Regions from separate parts of the Homo sapiens genome. Here region 1 is linked to region 2. Evidence: promoter capture Hi-C in 16 types of primary human blood cells and fetal thymus (Javierre and others, 2016). All regions are on one chromosome and are shown on one strand. Each heading gives the region's core, a stretch centred on a gene start or on the middle of the fragment in contact. The rest is flanking DNA. Distances are from core to core; before and after follow the strand shown.

The links. The method cuts DNA at HindIII sites, captures the fragments that hold promoters and counts their contacts. A CHiCAGO score of 5 or more calls a contact.
Region 1: a fragment that was not itself captured here is called in contact with the fragment with the promoter of DOCK7 in region 2 in 1 of 17 cell types (megakaryocytes); the score reaches 6.2 in megakaryocytes.

The regions. Positions count from the first base shown.
Region 1 is chr1:62,541,661-62,546,146 of GRCh38, forward strand. DOCK7 (dedicator of cytokinesis 7) reads right to left here. Exons shown (of 50, transcript NM_001367561.1): 23 at 3,287-3,379; 24 at 1,996-2,085; 25 at 948-1,043. Among named protein-coding and RNA genes, the nearest start is that of ANGPTL3, 54 kb to the right of the region's middle. The HindIII fragment of the contact is 5,345 bases long and covers 1-4,225 here.
Region 2 is chr1:62,686,561-62,690,429 of GRCh38, forward strand. It overlaps DOCK7 (dedicator of cytokinesis 7), which reads right to left and starts at 1,826. Exons shown (of 50, transcript NM_001367561.1): 1 at 1,667-1,826. The coding sequence starts at 1,704. DOCK7-DT (DOCK7 divergent transcript) reads left to right here and starts at 1,922. Exons shown (of 2, transcript NR_185999.1): 1 at 1,922-2,092. RefSeq lists a silencer at 1,179-1,928 and an enhancer at 2,938-3,232. The HindIII fragment of the contact is 2,843 bases long and covers 976-3,818 here.

The DNA of each region.
Region 1 (4,486 bases), core at 303-2,802, 150 kb before region 2:
ATTATGTTACCAGTAAGGCATCTGGTCAGCAGTAGGCTATTAGTAGTTAAGTTTTAGGTGAGTCAGAAGTTATATGCAGATTTTGACTGTGTGGGGGAGTCGGTTCCCCTAAACCCCAAGTTGTTCAAGGGTCAACTGTTCATATATATGTATTTATTAATTGAAATATTAATTCACTCATTTTAAAAGTGTCACTTATTTGATTAAGCAAAAAGTACTTAAAAAATTTAAAGAGACAGGATCTTGCTCTGTTATCCATGCGGAGTGCAGTGGTGATCATAGCTGACTGCAGCCTTGAACTTCTGGGCTCAAGCAAGCCTCCCTCCTCAGCCTTCCAAGTAGATGGAACTACAGGTTTGTGCCACCAGGTTTAGCTAATTTAAAAAAAAATTTTTTTGGTAGATATGGGCTCTTGCTATGTTGCCCAGGCTGGTCTCAAACTCCTGATCTCAAGTGATCCTCCTGCCTCGGCCTTCTAAAGTGCTGAGATTACAGGTGTGAGCCACTGCACCCAGCCAGTACTGTTGTTTTTTTATTGATTGTAACTGGCATTTCCCTAAGGGTTTACTAGCCATAACAATAGCAGTGGGTATCTATAAAGCTCTTTCCATCTTTGGTATAAAATCTACAATACTGTCATTATACACTTCATGTATAATGACTAGCAAAGAATGTATCACAAGTTTCCTTTGAAAATATAGCTAGCTTATGCAACCATCCCTGAGAAAATAAGAGTTAAAATGAGCCTCACTCTTAATTCCACCTAAACTGTGTTGAGTGTCCACAGTGTTTATTTAGAGATGTAACACATGTAATTTTGTCTTAGAGGCACATGGAAAAGCGTTAAGATGTGCAACAGAAAAAGATTTCTAAGGTAACAAATGAGCTAGCATAAAATTGTTCACTAAGAGAAAAAATATTAAAGAACATGCTCAGTTTTTGCTCACCATTAATTCAAAAAAGAACCAGGCTTGTTGCAAAGCTGATTCCCGAACGCTGCCACTGCAAACAACCCACTGCAAAGCCAGCTCCTCGTGAAAAAGCTATCCAGAAGTAAATCCAAAGTTATTATCAAAGTCAAATCTGCTGATAACATAAACCAAATCATAATGCAAATACAAACGAAGATATAATGAGAATAAGCAAAATAAGGCACGTGAACCATTCAATGATGCACTGAAGACACCCATTAACGAAACGGCTATTTATGTATGTAAGACAGTGGTATGTGGAACAGCTGAAAAAATTACATGTTATCTTGCAGTAAAATGTAATTTTAAAAGGACAGGTAGAAGATAGCCTCCTAAATTGTACCTGCAAACAGAAACTAGACTAAAAACTTATAGTACAGTAATATTTTGTTTGTATCTTAAGTACATTTTTAAACATACGCAAATACATGCATGAACTTTGCTGGTACAATTTAGGAAATACATTTTAAAATTTAAACTTTGCTATGAGCCATTAATTTTCAAGTTTTCAGGTAAGGTCTTTTTAAAAAAAAATAGCAGAAGATTTCTGCCTTATAATGGATATGCATACAAAGCATTTGCAAAGTAGTGTATATTAATATGAAAAAGGACTAACAAAACTGTGCATAAGGGAAGCAAATCAACATATCTTACTAAGAGTGACAATTTTTCTAACTCATCTTCCTTTCCCTGGAGATTTAAAACACAAAACAGAAGCAGTTACAGAAACAGAATTAAGAGTTGATACATTTTTTTGGTACTAAAATTTGATGATCAAATTTGAATTCACTAAATCCTAAAAATAGTCAATCCCAAAGATATAAACATTATCATAATGTAAAAAAGTATACATTGACAAGATATGCCCCAAAAGGCATCAGACAAGCAATGCTTGTTCAGATATATTTTTAAGCACAATGCAATTACTGTAAGTATCTCATACTGGTTATGTAAAGAAATCTTACATCTATTTAATTGGTGAAATTATTTTCCCCCTCTATGAATTGTCTTCATATGAATCTACCTTTTTAGTTGGTAAGCGTCCCGTTAATGTTTGTAAGAAACTTGACGTCTCTGTGTGCGAAGACATACGATTACAACTTCGATCCATAGCCTATGGAGTGAAGATGAATGAATGACGAGATAACATTAACGTTTGCAGTGGATGACTTTGCAGCTGATGGATTATGTACAAGTTTAAAACAGAGTTTTATTATGGTTTCAAAAACCATCTATTTTATTGCTCATCTCATTTTCACCATGTTAAGCTGCTTTAATGACAATGCATAAGTAGTATCAAAATGGCTTCTATATATTTTTGGTCTTTAAAAAATGATGAGTATTTCAGTGATTATATAATATTCAGAGTGTTGCAAAGAATGAAACTTTTATCTGTGTGATCTATATACATGCACATATCTAGTAAAAATATATAAAAAGTAAAAACATACTTCTCAACTGGTCTCAGACCAAAAAAGAAATCAGTAACTTTATATTAAAGAAAAGAAAAAGTTTAGAATAATTTCTTTCACTTTTTCATTATTATCAAAAACTACTATTCAGGTTTGTCATATACTAAATCAAATATAAATCATTTACAATATTAGAAATGGAATTAAAAATTTTATTTAGGAACAGGATTTCCCTCCAAAGCCAACACAGATGAGAAGTATATTTTGAGATATCATGCAGTATTAGCTATCAAGCAACTAGTCTTAAGTAAGCAAAACCTAATTCAGCTAAGGTATAACAAATTTCATACTTTGCAACACAGTACAAATTAAAATGGATTTTTGCTTCTGGTATTGAGTCTTATAGCACGGGGATCATATACTGTTCACATTCAATTTCAACTTATTGCCAGTCTTTCTATTCGGTGATTAGGAAGAAAATAACAAGATAGTAAATGTTAAATGAAAATGATACAATAGTTACACTTTAAACCAAAAGCAAATAGAAAACTGTTGGGTTTTTTCCTCCACGTAAAAAATTTAAAAATTGCTATTAAAGACGTGCTACCCCTAAAGAAGAAACTGTTATAAAAGCCATCAATTGCATAAGCAGCAGGCACTGAAATATTGATAGGGTGTGTAAGGAAGAAAGAAGACAGAGATAGGAAATAGGAAAGAAGAACATTACTGGTGCAATTGGTGGTACTCATGCATAGTAGTTGGAAAATGTGCTAAGTAAACAAAAATACACACTTTTTAATGATTAAAAAAAGCAAGCCACTGAAATCATAGTATATACTAAAAAGTAATGTTCTAAAGGGAAACATCAGCAGCCAATAAAGAAACCTCTAATATAAACACCACCTGTGTTGATTCTGCACTTGGACTGGGGTTGGATCCCCATGGGGCAGCTTTTGGACCACCAGTGTTAACCCAGGAATTGGAGCGATCTAAACCCTAAGCATATAATAGAAAGCAGTTTGAAAGGAAAGAAATATTACATGTTGCATGCTATAAATTATTCTTAAAGAAATTCAGATCTTCTAATGCAAACATGTTTTTAATTAGTACTGTTAAAGCAACCAAAATTTGTAGGCACCTATAGAGTATTAGTTCATCAAAATTATCTTATTATATAACACAATTTTAAAAAAAATCACCAAGACCATTAAGTATAGTATTTAAAGGTAATTTTTCTTTATGTAAAGGAATACTCTTGAAGTACCAATAACTAATGTTCCCACAGCACCACACCCCCAAACTTTCTTTAAAGATAGTACAAGTTAGCAACAGGTAATTTCCTCTGTATCTAACTGAGGTTTAAAGGAAAAAATGGAAGAAAAACACTCCATTCTTTGTTATAAACTTTAATTTCATTCCATCTCTCATCAACTGAAAACTACTATGCAGTGATACCCCATAATTCTATTTGAGCTTGCTACCACCTTCACTCTCTTTTAGGGACAGACAGGAGAAATAAAGTAAAAACTTAAGAAAAAAATGATACCTAATATTTACTCCTTCCTAATAATGGATTTGGAGCTGCACTTATAATAATAATGGGCTACTATTTATTAATAAATATTATAAGGAAAAACATTATGCTGGGGCTGTTTATAGGAATTATATCTTCATCATCATCTTCATTAATTTAAAATTTCTTTAAAACGCTACTAAAGTATATGTCCAGAAGTTAATTTATGTTTATCTCTGTCTGAAAGGGGTTACTGTGATTCCAGGTGAAGGAAACAGAGGCTTTTCTTCTATTTCCTAAAACTGACTGTTGGTCAGAATCAATTGAGAAGCTTTATAAAATTCAGATCCTGGGCTCTATCTCTATAAATTCGATTCAGTAATTTGGACTGGGGACTTGAGAATCTAATAATTGGAACTGGAGCAAGTTGTAAAAGATTTTTAAAGAATTATTAGGGTAAGAATAGCAAAGACAATCGAAGACAAGCTGATGTAAACATATCAGGACATGAGTACAGACCCAAACCAGAAACCACCAAAGGAAAGACAGGTAAAAGTGAAGAGTTGGAACAACTGTAATCAACTCTGTCT
Region 2 (3,869 bases), core at 576-3,075:
GTCATCATAACTCCCTGGGAGAAACTAATTACTACAAGTGTTTGATGACAGGTAGTATAGGCCCTGTACTATCCTACGCACATTACACAAATTATGCCACTTAATGTTCACAACAACACTATGAGCTGGGTCCTATTATTATTCTCATTTGCCAGACGAGGAAACGGAAATTTGGCCCAACAACTTGGCCAAAGTCCCAAGCTAGAAAATACCAATCAGGATTTGAACCCATGTCGGGGTCTGAGAGTAGAGCCCATGCTCTTAAACACTTGCTATTTTGCCCCTTCAGGAAAAAAAAAGTGCTAGAACGCTGGAAAGAAAGAAAAAAAAAAGCCTCTGCCTCGAAAGCAGCTAGGACGACAGGTGCAACACCACACCTGGCTAATTTTTTTGCAGAGATGGGGTGGGGGGGACTCGCTATGTTGCCCAGGCTGGTCTTGAACTCCTGGCCTCAAGCGATCCTCCTGCCTCGGCCTCCCAAACTGCTGGGATTACAGGCCTGAGCCACTGCATCCGGCCCAAAATTTTTAAAGAAATGTCAGCAAACTAAAAAGACTCAGAGCCACAGAACTACAACTGCCCCAAAACAAAAAAAGGTAATTTAATATGAATGCTTCTTTTCTTGGGACATCATAATTCACACAAATATGATTTTATTAAAACAAAAATGTCTACTGTCTCATACATAAGTATACTCCACAAAGAAATTCTACAAATATTAGAGTCCTCTGTCATTTAATTTTTATTTGGCGGGTGGGAGAAAGGTGGCAACCAACCACCACAAGTAGGTGAAAGGCTTTGAAACCTCCACCTCAATCACTTGCTTTACTTCAAGACTGCAATCACTTGCTTTACTTCAAGACTGCTAACATATAAAAGGATGTCAGTGTATAAAGAACACTGCCTATCATCCATCTTCTCGGGTGCTCTGAGAAACACAGGCGCACAGTTAAATTCACAGGCGAACTCAGAACAAGCTTCAGCCTGCAATCCGTCAGGGATTCGGCAGCTGCACACCGAAGGTGCAGCCCGCAGCTCTCAACTTTTCATTCTGTCCACACGTTTTCAATCCTGGACGCACAAGTCCACTTTGAACCTGGCCCGAGGGTGCAAAGAGGGTTCCTGTCAGATTTCTCAGGAAGAGAGAGACGCGTGAAGGAGGGGCGGCCTCCCACCCGCCCCGAGCCGCCGCGCGTTTCTCCTTTTGTTGGGGTGGAGGAGGGCGGACCCCGCACCCTCTAGGGGCCAAGAGGGGTGGGCGGAGAGACGGGAGGGGGCGAAACGCCGCGGCGGCCCCCGACGAGCCCGGGGGTGGGAACACAAAGAATTTGGGAAGCGGCCGACCGCCCTTCCATAAACCTCCGCAGAAGTCCAGGCCCGGGCCGCCGAGGAGCAGGAGGAGGCGGGCGCGCTGGAGTCCGCGGCCCTCTCCGCTCCCTGCCGAGGCTCAGCGGCGGGCGCGGGCTGAAGGCCGGGGTTCGAGGGCGGCGCGAGGCCTCCGCTACCCCCTCAGCCACCCCGAACCCCTTCCGCCCCGCCGCGAGCCAGGCCGCGGGATCCCGGTGCCGGCCCCGCCACACCCACCCGCCTCCTAGGCCAGGCCTGGGAGGACTCCGCGGCTCTTTCTCGGGCGGCGGCGGCGGCGCGCCCCACGCCGGATATTTACCTGCTGATCTTCTGGGCGAAGGCGCGGCGCTCGGCCATGGCTGCTGCGGCGACGGCGACGGCGGCGGCGGCTGCGGCGGGCCGGGTGCGGACCGGCGGGCGCGTGCCTCCTCGCTCGTGCTCCCTCCCTCGCGGCCTCCGCCAGTCCGGGCTCCGGACCTGGGAGGCTGGGGCTGGCGGCCGGAGCCAGGAACGAGCCCTGCCGTAATGTTCCTTAGAGGCGCGCAACGAGAAACCGCTCCTCCCCCAGCGCGTCAATCCCGGCGGGAACCCCGGCTGCGGAAGGCGGCTGCGGCCGGCGGGAGCCGAGGGGAAGAATGGAGCGCTGAGGAAGCGAGGCGCCAGCCCCAGCCGCTTCGCTGCCGCGGAGCCTGCACGACCGAGAGGTCGCGGAGAGAAGCCAGAGACAGGCCAGCGACCTGGCGAGGCAAGAAAATAAGATAACCGAACGCGTAGGGGGAGCTTGGCTTTCCCGAAATGGAAGGGAAGGAAATGAAAGGTGGGCTTTGCCGAGGGGGCTGTGCTTTAACCAAAGCCCTGGATGACTGGGTTCATGTTTCTGCAGCACCGGTCTCCGAGCTTTTTAAAGCACTTGGGTTTCTGCTTCGGCCTCATGAATGCAGCCTAACTGGAGAAACAGTGGTTTTTCTTATAGAGAAAGAGCCAGAAAATACCTTGCTCCTGCAGCGATAACAATAGTAATAGTTGACTTCTGGTGCTTAGCCAGCCACTGGATTAAAGTTTTTCAAGCACGAGCGCTTTGAAGTAGATCGTTACTATCACTATTTTAGAGGGAAGGAAATTGGCTTGGAAAAGCTAAGTGACTGGCCCCAGGTCGCACAGATGGTAAACTCTTCCACTGAGACTCAAACCCAGAGCCGGTTCTTTTCTTTGAGGACAGTTGTTTCCGTATTATTAACCCCTTTTGGATCTCTCTCTGTCTCTCATACATACATATATATATATATATATATATATATATATATATATATATATATATATATAAAATCCAGGTGAGCTCTAACGTTCACCCCCATTTTGATGTTCTGTTAAATAAGCTCTGTGTTGACCACTGAAACTGACCTTGTCCATAATAGCCTATAAAACAGAGACTAGCAGAGATTTGTTTTCATCTGTTCTGTTGTAATCCCATAATGTCTAGAATATTTGGCTCCTAATGCATATCTGTTGATACTGAAATTATGGTGACACTAAGAAAAATATCTTGGTTTCTTGTAGTACCTTTCCTCTTAAGTATTGCAAGAACTTAAAATGTGTATTTATTTATTGTTATTATTATATTCTCAGTATGTCCTGGTGGAATATGTTGGATACCTGTTTTCCTCTCTTTTACCATTGGAAAATCTGTAGCTTGGAGCCATTAGGTCACTTGCCAGAGTCACACACTGAGTCAGAGGTGAAAGCCTCAATTAGTCAGATCCATAACTTCCTGTCTAGTGCTGTAACTTCTGTGGAAGACTGTGTATTTATATAACAATGCTCATTGCAGTAACACACTGCTTTTATTTATTGATTTATTTATTTTAGACAGAATCCCCCTGTGTTGCTCAAGCATGGAATGCATAGGGCACTGCAGCCTAAAACTCCTAGGCTCAAGCAATCCTCTTGCCTCAGCCTCTGGAGGAGTAGCTAGTACCACAGGCTCTTGCCAAGGCGCCCTCCAGTAACACACTGTTTTCAGATGCTTGTTTACTAAAGGAAAAGATAGTCTATTCAAAGAGGACAGATATTTGGCTTCTACCTAAGTATAGAGCCCACCTAGGTGTTCTAAAAAACACGAAGGTGAACTAGACACAGACCTGCTCTCAGAATGTTTGAGTCCATTGGGAAAGATGAACCAGGTACTCACAGACTGTAAGTCAAGGCTATCACTGTACCTGGCTTTTAAGACCCTCTGTGATAGGAACCCAGACTTATTTTGCCACTTTCTTACTCTGTAACCTTAGGCAAGCTACTTAACTTCATCTCTAAAAGGAGGAAAATAATTATATCTACTTGAAAGGGTGTTGTGAAGATTTATTGAATTGATTAATATAAAGTTCTTAGAACAGGGCCTGGTTCATGGTAAGTACGATGTGTGTCAGCTGTTGTTATTATTATCACTGTTACTGTCATTATTCATCCTATACTTAAGCTTGTCCTGGGTGTTTGATAGTCCCTGAATTGGTTGTCTGCTCTCATAC